Linked DNA regions of Homo sapiens: region 1 is linked to region 2. Evidence: promoter capture Hi-C in 16 types of primary human blood cells and fetal thymus (Javierre and others, 2016). All regions are on one chromosome and are shown on one strand. The core of a region is centred on a gene start or on the middle of the fragment in contact, and the rest is flanking DNA. Distances in the headings are between cores, read along the strand shown. Region 1 has its middle 300 kb from the start of CSNK2A2IP. Region 2 holds the start of EPHA3 (EPH receptor A3).

Evidence for each region. The method cuts DNA at HindIII sites, captures the fragments that hold promoters and counts their contacts. A CHiCAGO score of 5 or more calls a contact.
Region 1: a contact is called between a fragment that was not itself captured here and the fragment with the promoter of EPHA3 in region 2, in 1 of 17 cell types (megakaryocytes). The highest score is 6.9, in megakaryocytes.

The regions. Positions count from the first base shown.
Region 1 is chr3:88,639,364-88,644,965 of GRCh38, forward strand. No RefSeq gene overlaps it. Among named protein-coding and RNA genes, the nearest start is that of CSNK2A2IP, 300 kb to the left of the region's middle. The HindIII fragment of the contact is 3,058 bases long and covers 1,392-4,449 here.
Region 2 is chr3:89,103,666-89,109,053 of GRCh38, forward strand. EPHA3 (EPH receptor A3) reads left to right here and starts at 3,956. Exons shown (of 17, transcript NM_005233.6): 1 at 3,956-4,171. The coding sequence starts at 4,084. RefSeq lists an enhancer at 3,798-3,937. The HindIII fragment of the contact is 3,372 bases long and covers 1,432-4,803 here.

The DNA.
Region 1 (5,602 bases), core at 1,671-4,170, 470 kb before region 2:
AGGTTAGTATTGTTATGTGTGAATTTTATCCTGTCATCATGATGCTAGCTGGTTATTTGATCCTATCATCATTATGCTAGCTGGTTATTTTGCACAATAGTTGATGCAGTTTCTTTATAGTGTCATTGGACTTTACATTTAGGTGTGTTTTTGCAGTGGCCTGTACCAGTATTTCCGCTCCATATTTACTGCTTCTTTCAGGATCTCTTGCAGGACAGGCCTGGTGGTAATGAAATCCCTCAGCATTTGCTTGTCTGGAAAGGGTTTTATTTCTCCTTTGCTTATGAAGCTTAGTTTGGCTGGATATGTAATTCTGTGTTGAAAATTCTTTTTTCAAAGAATGTTGAATATTGGCCCCCAGTCTATTCTGGCTTGTAGAATTTCTGCTGAGAGGTTTACTGTTATTCTGCTGAGCTTCTCTTTGAAGGTGACCTGATCTTTCTCTCTGGCTGCCCTTAACAGTTTTTCCTTTATTTCGACCTTGGAGAATCTGATGATTATGTGTCTCAGGGTTGATCTTCTCATGGAGTGTCTTAATGGTTCTCTGTATTTCCTGAATTTGAATGTTGGCCTGTCTTGCTCATTGGGGAAGTTCTCCTGCATCATATCCTGAAGTGTGTATTCCAGCTTGTTTTCATTCTCCCTGTCTCCTTCTGGTACTCCAATCAATTGTAGGTTTGGGCTTCTTATGAAGCCCCATACTTCTTGGAGGTTTTGTTCATTCCTTGTTATTATTTTTTCTCTATTCTTTTCTGCATGTCTTATTTCAGTAAGGTAGTCTTCCACGTGGTCGATTCAGCTGTTAATACTTGTGTATGCTTCACAAAGTTCTTGTGCTGTGTTTTTCAGCTCCATCAGGTCATTTATGTTCCTTTCTAAACTGGTTATTCTAGATAGCCATTCCTTGAACCTTTAATCAACATTCTTAGCTTCTTTGCATTGGGCTAGAACATACTTCTTTAGCTCATTATAGTTTTTAATTACCCAGCTTCTGAAGCTTATTTTTGTCAATTCATCCATCTGATCCTCCGTCCAGTTCTACGTCCTTGATGGAGAGATGTTGTGATCATTTGGAGGAGAAGAGACACTCTGGTCTTTTGGGTTTTCAGCATTCTTTTTGTTGATTCTTTCTCATCTTCGTGAGTTTGTCTAGTTTCAGTCTTTGTGCCTCTCACCCTGGGATGGGGTTTTTGTGGAGGCCTTTTTGTTGTTGTTGTTGTTGATGCTTTGTTGTCACTTTCTGCTTGTTTGTTTTTATTTCAATAGTGAGGTCCCTCTTTTGTAGGGCTGCTGGAGTTTGCAGGGGGTTCACTTCAGGCCCTATTCAAGTGATTCACTCCAGTGCCTGGAGATGAAGAGTGACACTTTCTAATGATCCTAACACAGCCAAAAGCTTTCCTTTAATAGGTACTTCCTTTGTTGTCTGTGGTTACTTTTGCTTTCATATGCTTGTACATTTGAATTCCAGTGCCACCTACTTCATGGTTGAAATCATGTACAACTTAGGAAATATAGTTGCAATTAGAATTGAACAATTGTTACAACGTTATAGAAACTGGAAATATTTACAATTTTATTATAGAGTAGAATTCCTGTGGCTGGGTAGCTTGTTACTAAAGCAATACAGTGAGTAGGGATTAAGAAGAGAGTTTAATTCGGAATGGGTTTGACTCTTGCCTTTGCATGTACTAGTTATGGAGGTTCAATAAGTTTCAGTTTTCTCATCCTTAAAGAGGGTGGTACAGTTATCAGTTTATTTACTCTTAATTCTAAATCCACCCCTCATGCTCAGCTTCCTGATTCTGGATCTGGACCCTGTGAACATTTTTCTTTTGCCATTGGAACAATGTTGGACTTCGCCAGGAGAAGGCAGTGAAGGGACACCAGAAGACATAAGCAGAAGGAAGGCTTTTGCTCCTGGTTCTGGTGTACTTTTCTTCTTACCTCTATGTCACAGCTGATTATCTTATGCGGGAGACCCAGTGACATTCCCCCTCCTATGAGTTTGCCAGCACCACAGGGTGTAGCTTTAGTGGCCCTACTCCCCAGACAAATTTAGCTCAGCTTTCTGATTACTAGCCCTGTCCTGCCTGCTGCTGGCCAGCTTTGATGCCAGGCACTGCAGGGAACTTCTCTGCTATCCAAGGGTCTGCAGCCACATCCTCTTCAAAGAGGTCTGAATCTTATCCTTCAGGTAGCCCTTTCCATGTGTGCTCTTTCAAAGCCCTATGGATCATAGCTACTTGACGACTTTGCTACTTGTGTAGCAAAAGTTCTTTTTAGAACTTTCTCTTACCTCTTGTAGTAATTAACTATGTTTTTCTAATTAATAATTCTTCCTATCTAGTTTTCTGCCTTTAAATTACTAATATGTTTTTGTGTTCTGAATAGATCTTGATCAATAAAGTGGGATAATAAAAATATGTCCCTTTTAGAGGTTGTTGAGAAGTTTAAATAAAGCAATATACGAAGTGCTCAACAAATCCTAGCTATAATTATTATTGAATGCTTTTTATAATGATTTAGCAAATTCTAAAGAATGAAATGTTTTCTTCACATGTTAGACCATTTTTTTTTATTTAGAATTATCCCTCTTCCCTTCTCAGTGATCTGGGTTTAGTTGTGTGGCAAGATAATGTTTGAAATGTGTAGCTATCTAACCACCCACAAGGCTGATCTGACAGACCTGGGCAAGGCCTATAGCTTTGATGGAAAATATAGGAATTATTTACATTTTCTTTATTTGCATTTGACTAGATTATTACATAGTTTATTCCTAAAATGGTTTTTTGATTTGTTTTGTTTCAGAAGCATTTTCAACATGTTTAACATTCTTACTACAGAAAAAACCTCTTAAAATTTTTTTTTTTCCAAATGAAGAAAAGTAAGAGAGGTGGGTTATGTTATAAAATTCAGAAATTTTACTCTGCTATTTTATAAATAGTTAAACGGGATTATCCATCTATATAATAATTAATTTTCCACTTACTGTTTTGTATAAACCCAGTAAGAATTCATTCATTCAAAACACAAAATGCTAACTGTGATTTCACTTGTTTGGAGCAGAAGGCCACATTCAAAATGCTGTTTCAGGAATACATTTTCATTTCTGAAAGTGGTAATATATTTTGTTTTAATTTTCATGTTGTGTACCCATACATAAAATTAGGAGAAATTTAATCAGCTACAAATACCACCACAAAGAAGCCTGGGAACTTGGGTACCGGTAATTGGAATTGCTGTTCAACTGCAAATTGCTCACTTGATGAAGGTTTTATTCATGGCCCTTTTCTTTATACATTTCAAAACAATACTTGAAGTTCAATTTATTTTACTGATGTATACAATTTTTTATATAGAAAAATAGAAAATTGGTGGAAAGGATAAAAGTTATGCCTACTGGGAGGCACACACACAAGTTTCCTTTAATAGGAAGAACTGTATCTGAAGTGGGGTAGAGAATCGATAATCAAGAAAGCCAAGATGTTAATAAAAACCAAGTTGTATAAAGCCAACTTTATACAACCAAGTTGTATAAAGCCAGAAAATAGATGTCACAAAATGGTATCCTATTTTTAAGGTGGTGTTAGAAAGAGGGTATTTACAACAATATGGGGAGGGTGCAGAGAAATCACAAAGGATAATGCCATACCCAGAAGGCTATTATCAGCATATCTGTTACCACTTCGAAGCCAGGGAAGAATTTGTATGGGGAAGTGCCAGCTACAGAAACCTAGAATGAGAGGACAGTATAGAGGAGGCTTCCTTGAGGGAAGCATTGACCATCAGTTGAAGGACTGAAACAGTACAAGGTGATCCCACAGAGATGGAACTGCAGGAATAAACTCCATGATCTCATCCTCTCACCCTCTGATCACCTGCAGAATCTCCCCTTGGTTTAAATCAATGGGAAACCAGCAGAGTTTAAGGGAGACTATTGATGTATTTCAACAAAGTCAGCCTACCGGGACAAAGAACAGAATGGGGAATAATGGGGAATGGATTTGAAGGAACAAACAAAAGATATCTAGCAAACTATTTTAACATAAAAATAAAATTTTAACCACCTCATGTGACATGACAAGAAACAGGAAACCATAAGGATATAGAATAAAACCTAGACAAAAATAAGCATAGGCTGATTCTTTTAACACTTCTTACCACTTGAAACTTGATAGCCTACTTTTTAAAGCCAAGTGTTATATAGTGTATAAACTAAATTAAAAGACAAAGAGAAGATGAAATTAAAAAAAACTGTTGAGTATTGAAAACAGAATTGATTGCACATATTTCTCTATTTGGAAAAGTGAGTCTTGCTACAGACTTATACACATTTATGTCTAAATAAATATTTTGAAGTGTTTAAAGTATTTTTTTAAATCTCAAAATAGATTTTATATATGAAAAAGCATGTTATATAGAAGAAAAGATTTCCTGATACTGGGAGAAAGCTTTTTTTTTTTTTTTAAAGAATTCAGGTTTATTAATTAGTATGTTTGGACATTTTTTAAGGGACTTTTTAATGTGAAGTGCACTTTCCATTCTGTTCCTAATGCATTCTTGAAGTTGAAAAAACTAGTCGTGCATGTTATACAAATAGCAGCAGAGTTCACCCTCTTTTTTAAAAAAAGTTTTGTACCATTTTACTTTAGTTAAATAAATTCTACTGTTATTAATAATACACTCTTAAAATGCTATTTTATTTTAGGATGTTTTGTGTTTTTGACTTGTTATCATGATTTGAAATGCAGCTGGTTGCCCTTCAAAAACAATGTTTAGATAGTAGTACCAATGTTAACATATCTAAGTGAGACCAATATCCCAGATGCACACATAGGAACATAAGGAATTAAAAAGCCTTTCTGCAAAAAAAAAAAAAAAAAAAATCATAAAGTGGAAAATGGGTTTCCAGATAACTGAGAGTCAATGGGCTTTCTGTTTACTCAATGTAGGCAGGATAGAGAAAAATCAAAGGAAAGCCTCTAGAGACATTTTTGGATTCCATAAAGCCATTGAAACTTGCAGATTTACACAAGGGATTTTGCAGGTTAAGTGTTTGGAAAGTAGATTTCTCAGCATGTTCTGGTATGATAAGGGTTTTAAGGCAGATGGATATAATGTGAATATAATTAAACCCTTTTCAGATAATAGTATAATAATGCTATGTTCTCTAAGGATAGGCAGAACTGCTGCTCTGCTCTGAGTACATTTCATCCATTTCGATCTATGTGTTCTATTCTATTCCAGGGTTTCATTAGGAATAATTTCCATGCATATAGTTCCCAAGACTTCATTTTATTGTTCTAATGTCACCAGCACCTTAAATAAAGATCCACATTGTTGAATAAAAAAAGACACATAGGCAAAGAAAGGGAAGGAACTGAAGCAAAATAAATGAAAGAGTTCTCAGGCAATATTTTTATATACACATTTTTGTTATAATTTAAGAATTGTTTTTAAAGTATTAGTGTCTTTGAAGTCTCATAGGACAGTAGAAAAAAACTGGAACCTTAAATATTAATGGAACCAAAAAAATACATTTGCTTTGGTTCAGAATGATTTTTACTGTAGTGGTAATATTAATACTCTTCTTGCTTTCTTT
Region 2 (5,388 bases), core at 2,706-5,205:
TTCCTACCAACACTCTGTCACCCAGGCTGGAGTCCAGTGATGTGATCTTGGCTCACTGCCACCTCTGCCTCCAGCGCTAAAGAGATCCTACCACCTCAGACACCCCAGTAGCAGGGACTCCAGGCATGTGTTACCATGCCTGGCTAGATTTTGTAGAGATAGGCTTTCTCCATGTTGCCCAGGCTGGTCTTGAACTCCTGTGCTCAAGCAATCCACCCACCCATCTCGGCCTCCCAAAGTGCTGGGATTATAGGGCTGAGCCTCCACTCCAAGCCTATTTTCATATACTAATGATTTCCAAAGAAATAACTCCACTTAGGTCCTTTTCTCCTAATATTTCATTTACCCTCTGCTTTCCCTCAGGTCTTTCCAACTAGACATATGTAAAACAGAAACCTTTACATTCCACGTCTGTTTTCTATCCTCAAACCTCTCTTACTCCTCACTAACTCTTCATTCAAGCCAGGAATTGAAAGGCCTTCTACGCACTACCGTCTGCCTAATTTCTCATAATCAATCTATTATGAAGTGTTGCCATTTCTCCCACTTATATGTGCCTGGTTTCAGTTCTACTGTTACTGCTCAGTGTCACACTCTCTAGATCTCTCTTTTGGATCAAGATTTTTTAAAAACAGTATTGAATGCTTTTAATAATTCAGACACTAGGCTAACACTTTATCTGTACCATCCCAAATCTGATATAATCCTTACAACATTCCGATGAGATAGGATCTGTTATTATCTGGATTTCACTAAGAGTGACAGAGCCAGGTCAGTGACCTAGATTGCTCTGATTCAAGAGCCCCACTGGTAACCTCTACATGGTATTGGCCATCCTACTGGAAAGGGCTCCTAATTTGTCTTTTGGCTTCTCATTGGAGTTTTCACTTTCATTTTCCCCTCCTTTCTTAAATATGTCAAACTGATCTTTCTAAAATGCAAATTGAACTATTTCTGCCTTGCCCCTCAGCACCCCTGTCCAAGCTTTTTAGAGCAGCTAATACAACTCTTCATGACCCTGCTTCTTCCTAGCCGGTGTCTCCTCTTTCCCATACCCGCTGACACAATTTCGAAATCTATACTCTAATAATAGAGACATTTGTCATTTCCTCCAGAAATCTTGTTTTTCACTTTTCTTTAAAATGCCCCTTTTCAGTTTCCTCTCAATTGCCATCTCCCCCAGGGAACTGTTAATTCCTAACTTGAGTTATGTACTAAATCCAGTTTTCCTTGGGGGAGTATTGTTTGTTTAACCTAAAATGGTCTTCTCATTTTCCCTTTTATCTTTCTTCTTTCTGAGAGATCCTAGTTCAGTTCCTTATCACTTCAGTCTTACTTGAAAAATAGCCTGAAGTCTAACTGGCCTACCTCTAATATTCCCTCCTTCACATTGGGCAGTGGTTCTCCAGGGACCCCAAGGATTACCTGAGAAGCTTTTGTGAAATTGCAGATTCCTGGGTTCCAACCTCGGAGGTTTAGGTCCAGTAAGTCTGTGGTGGGAAGAAGGCATCACTTCTTAATAAGCATTGCACCCAGGTGGAGACATCCTGTTTTATGCTATTAGTAAACTTTTGTCCCCAGACTGAGACATGATCAATTTACTACTTGCTGAAATGCTTTTGATGTCTCTCTTTAGTTTAAAATATATTGTAAAATCATTGACATGTGGCATCGAAATCTCTGTAGTTTTCAACCAGTCCTTTGAAGAATATTTCCCTACATTTTGTCTCCAATCCATACCTCCTCCTATTCCGGCCCTTTACCTACCACAAATACTCTAATATACTCTGTATTCCATATGTGCCAAATGCTTTCATTTTTGGCTCACTTGGACACTCTCTGGACTTGCCTGCCTGCAGTTCCTTCTGAATCATTTTCTTACTAGTGAACTCCTACCCATCCTTCAAGCTGCAACTCAACTACCACTTTCTTAATAAGGGCTTCCCTGCATCTGCTGCCCCCACCTCATCCTTTCCACTCCTGCTATGGTTGCTCTTCTCTGCTTATTGGCATCACTCCCTTTTCCCCATCTGTCCAGAATGGCGCCTACATAATGGAAACCTTTTACTTTTCACTAGAGAGTTGACAATTTAGAGATTCTATATCATTTACATTCTATTTTCAGGCCAGGTATTGCTTTGTACTCATTTTGCCACTCCTGTAGCTTTCTGCAAACATGAATGCCTTTTTTCCCAGTGACAAGCAGTTTTTAAGTTTTCAAGTGTGAAAAGAGAAATAGCATGAGGGGCGCCAATGGATCTGCGTGTCAGCACATTGGCAGATTCTCCAAAATGTTTTCAAATTGTCAATTCCAAATAAGATTTTAGTTTCTTTCAAGTTTCAGAAAACGTGTATCTAACTTTGGAACAATGTAAGTGTTGTGCTGGAACTTTGAAAAAACACCAGAGTCACCACTGTCTAAGTTCTCTGGGCAGTATCTGCTATTATTTTCAATTCTGACAGACTTGGCACTTGAGGATTGCGCAGCCTCTGGTGACACAATGTGGAAAGAAGTTAGAGACACAAAGTAACATGGCATACACAGAAAAGTGAGAAGGATCTCTCTTTTCCCCTGGCTGCTTCTATCCACCCCAATTCCCCACCCCAGTCATCAAACTATTATCTGGCACCATTAACTTAAATTCAAGTGAAAATTGTGTTCTCTAACTAAAAACATTGAGTTTGTGGACTGAATACATTATTAGCAAGGGCTTTTCAAACTTTCATTTAAGTTTCATTATCAAGAGCTCTAAAATTGATCACTGATCTTAAGATTATCAACATACCTTTATTTTCTGAAGTTGTGAGAGGAATATAATAATCTTGTTTTCTTTTTAGTATAAGAAGAGATAGATGGGCGGAAGGATATCTGAGTAACCATTTTCTGGGAGATATTTTAAAGATAAGTGATGCTGGTTATTAAAATATAAATTACAAAATTGTTTGGCTGAACTAGATTGCAATAGGTTGTTCAGCAATGGGATTGGAAATAACAGAGACCATTGATAGTCATGGTGTAAAATAAGTGAGAAAGTACGAGGACATTATTATTTAGCTTTTGGATTTGGAATGTTAAAGAATAAGAATACCCCAATATTATTAGACTATCAGTGGTTGAAAGTTGAATGGAGGAGCTGTGAATTATGCATTGTTTCTCTTGCAGAACCCAGAGATCCTAATGTGAGATGGTGAGGGAGGGGGATATGTATTATTAAGAAATTTAGGTTTGATCTGTATTACTTTTACAACACAGAACGAGAAAAGAATGTAGACCTCCGGCTGGGGTTAGACTTGCTCCCTTCCGTAAGATGATGAAGGTCAACTTCCCTGTTTGAAAAAAAACAAAGTATGCTCTATGTGCGCGGAAAATCACTGTGCCAGATCTAGTAAAAAGCCACGATACCATTGGGTGTGGAAATGCAGAGACCCTCTGATTCAGGCTGTGTATTAGTGTCTTTCTGAATCACAAAGAACTCATGGAGAGTTATGATCACATTGAACACAGTAAAGGAATAACTATAATCATTTTTTTCAATTATACAAACATGATTGACTTTTTAACGAAAGACTGCTATTCTTTCAAAACACACGTTTCTCTCGCATTTCAGTTCCTTTTGCACTCACATTGCCATATGATACTCCTATCAAGGCTGTGATTTCTTCGGTGAATTAAGCAACAGAGCATGGATAGCAAACAATAAAACAGCTACTTTTCATGCAACACAAAAGAGGGAGCATTTTTCTCAGCACCGCGGCCTCATCACATCTTCTGTGTTTCCTGTCCCATGGGCGACGCCCCCACTCCCACCCGGTCTCCTTCCCGAGCAGCTCTGGGCTGCAGAGCCAGCTGCGTGCCATCCCGCTCTGCTTCAGCGCACGCTGAAGACGGCACTAGGACCCAGGGAAGTCCCCGAGCGGGGTTCGCGGAAAGGCAGCCAGACTCCTCCTTATCTCCAGTGTCAAACTTGACATCAGCCTGCGAGCGGAGCATGGTAACTTCTCCAGCAATCAGAGCGCTCCCCCTCACATCAGTGGCATGCTTCATGGAGATATGCTCCTCTCACTGCCCTCTGCACCAGCAACATGGATTGTCAGCTCTCCATCCTCCTCCTTCTCAGCTGCTCTGTTCTCGACAGCTTCGGGGAACTGATTCCGCAGCCTTCCAATGAAGGTAAGCCAGGTACCGCGACGCACGGAGCTCTGCCCCGCGGGGCTCACGCTCTTCAAAGCACGTTCTCACCGAAGCCTTGCACGTCGGGAAGGTGCCTCCGAATAGAGCAGTTTGCTCTGAGAGTGAAGGAAAGATGTGCCTTTTTTTTTTCCAACTGTCTTCTAAAACACTTCAGGAGATAATTTTAGATGGTCTAAACTTTGAAAATGTGTTTTTAATCTGACACCATTTCGAGCAATTACCTTGTTTGCCAATTTGAGCAGAAAGAAAGAAAGAAAATCCTCCAGCGTTGCAACCCAGTTATGTTAATTGCCAAATAGCCAAGGCAGTATTTTATTTTCTAATTATGACCATGTGGTACTCCGAGAAGTTTGAAAGAAAATTCAGCCTTCCTCTCTAGACTCTTTAGTATGTTTAAAGGTAATGACAGGTTGTTCCTACTTGGGATCATGGCATTTATGAATGGACTAAAGGGAAATCAGAGTTTGTCGAAGCGGAGGTGCGTGTTTATGGTGCAAGGGCTGTGTTGAAGTTGTGTGTATCCCGCCAGGCAATGGTTTGCTCTATGGTACAGGTTCTAAAGAGCAGCATATGCCACATTAACGTAAGTAATATTTGCAAGAATTACAATAAGCTTAGGTTGGATTCTCTTTGTTTAAAGGCTTATATACAAATAGGAGAATGTATTTAATGAATAGTGGATAGCTCCTGGGAAGATATAGTAAATAACTGAATAGTAGATTAAGAGAGAATGTTCATATGCAGCAAATGGCATTTCCTTGATGTTGTGTTATTTATTATCCTTGTAATGAGCATTAATTCCTTTTCAGTGGGTTAAAGTGCAAACCTAATGTTAAGGACACCAATGTGTTCTATAAGATTGTGTACTTAATACATACATTTTCTTTCTCCTGTATTCCTTTTGTGATCTATTCTTGTGAATACAGTCACTAACTCGTAAAACAAACTTCTCTAAATAATTGATTAGTGTAAAGCCACACTTACAACATTAATTTCCTCTTAGTGATTTTGAACTTATAACAGTAACATTTAGCAATTTATTTTGCAAGTTAACAATACCGAGCAACTGATGTGCAAACATCATGTTATATACATCACTCCTTAGAAAATATATTGTCAAGCCAATACTGTTGTATATGTACCTTAATTTTAAAAACACGAGTAAAAACAAAATACTTAGAAAGTTTTTTATTAAA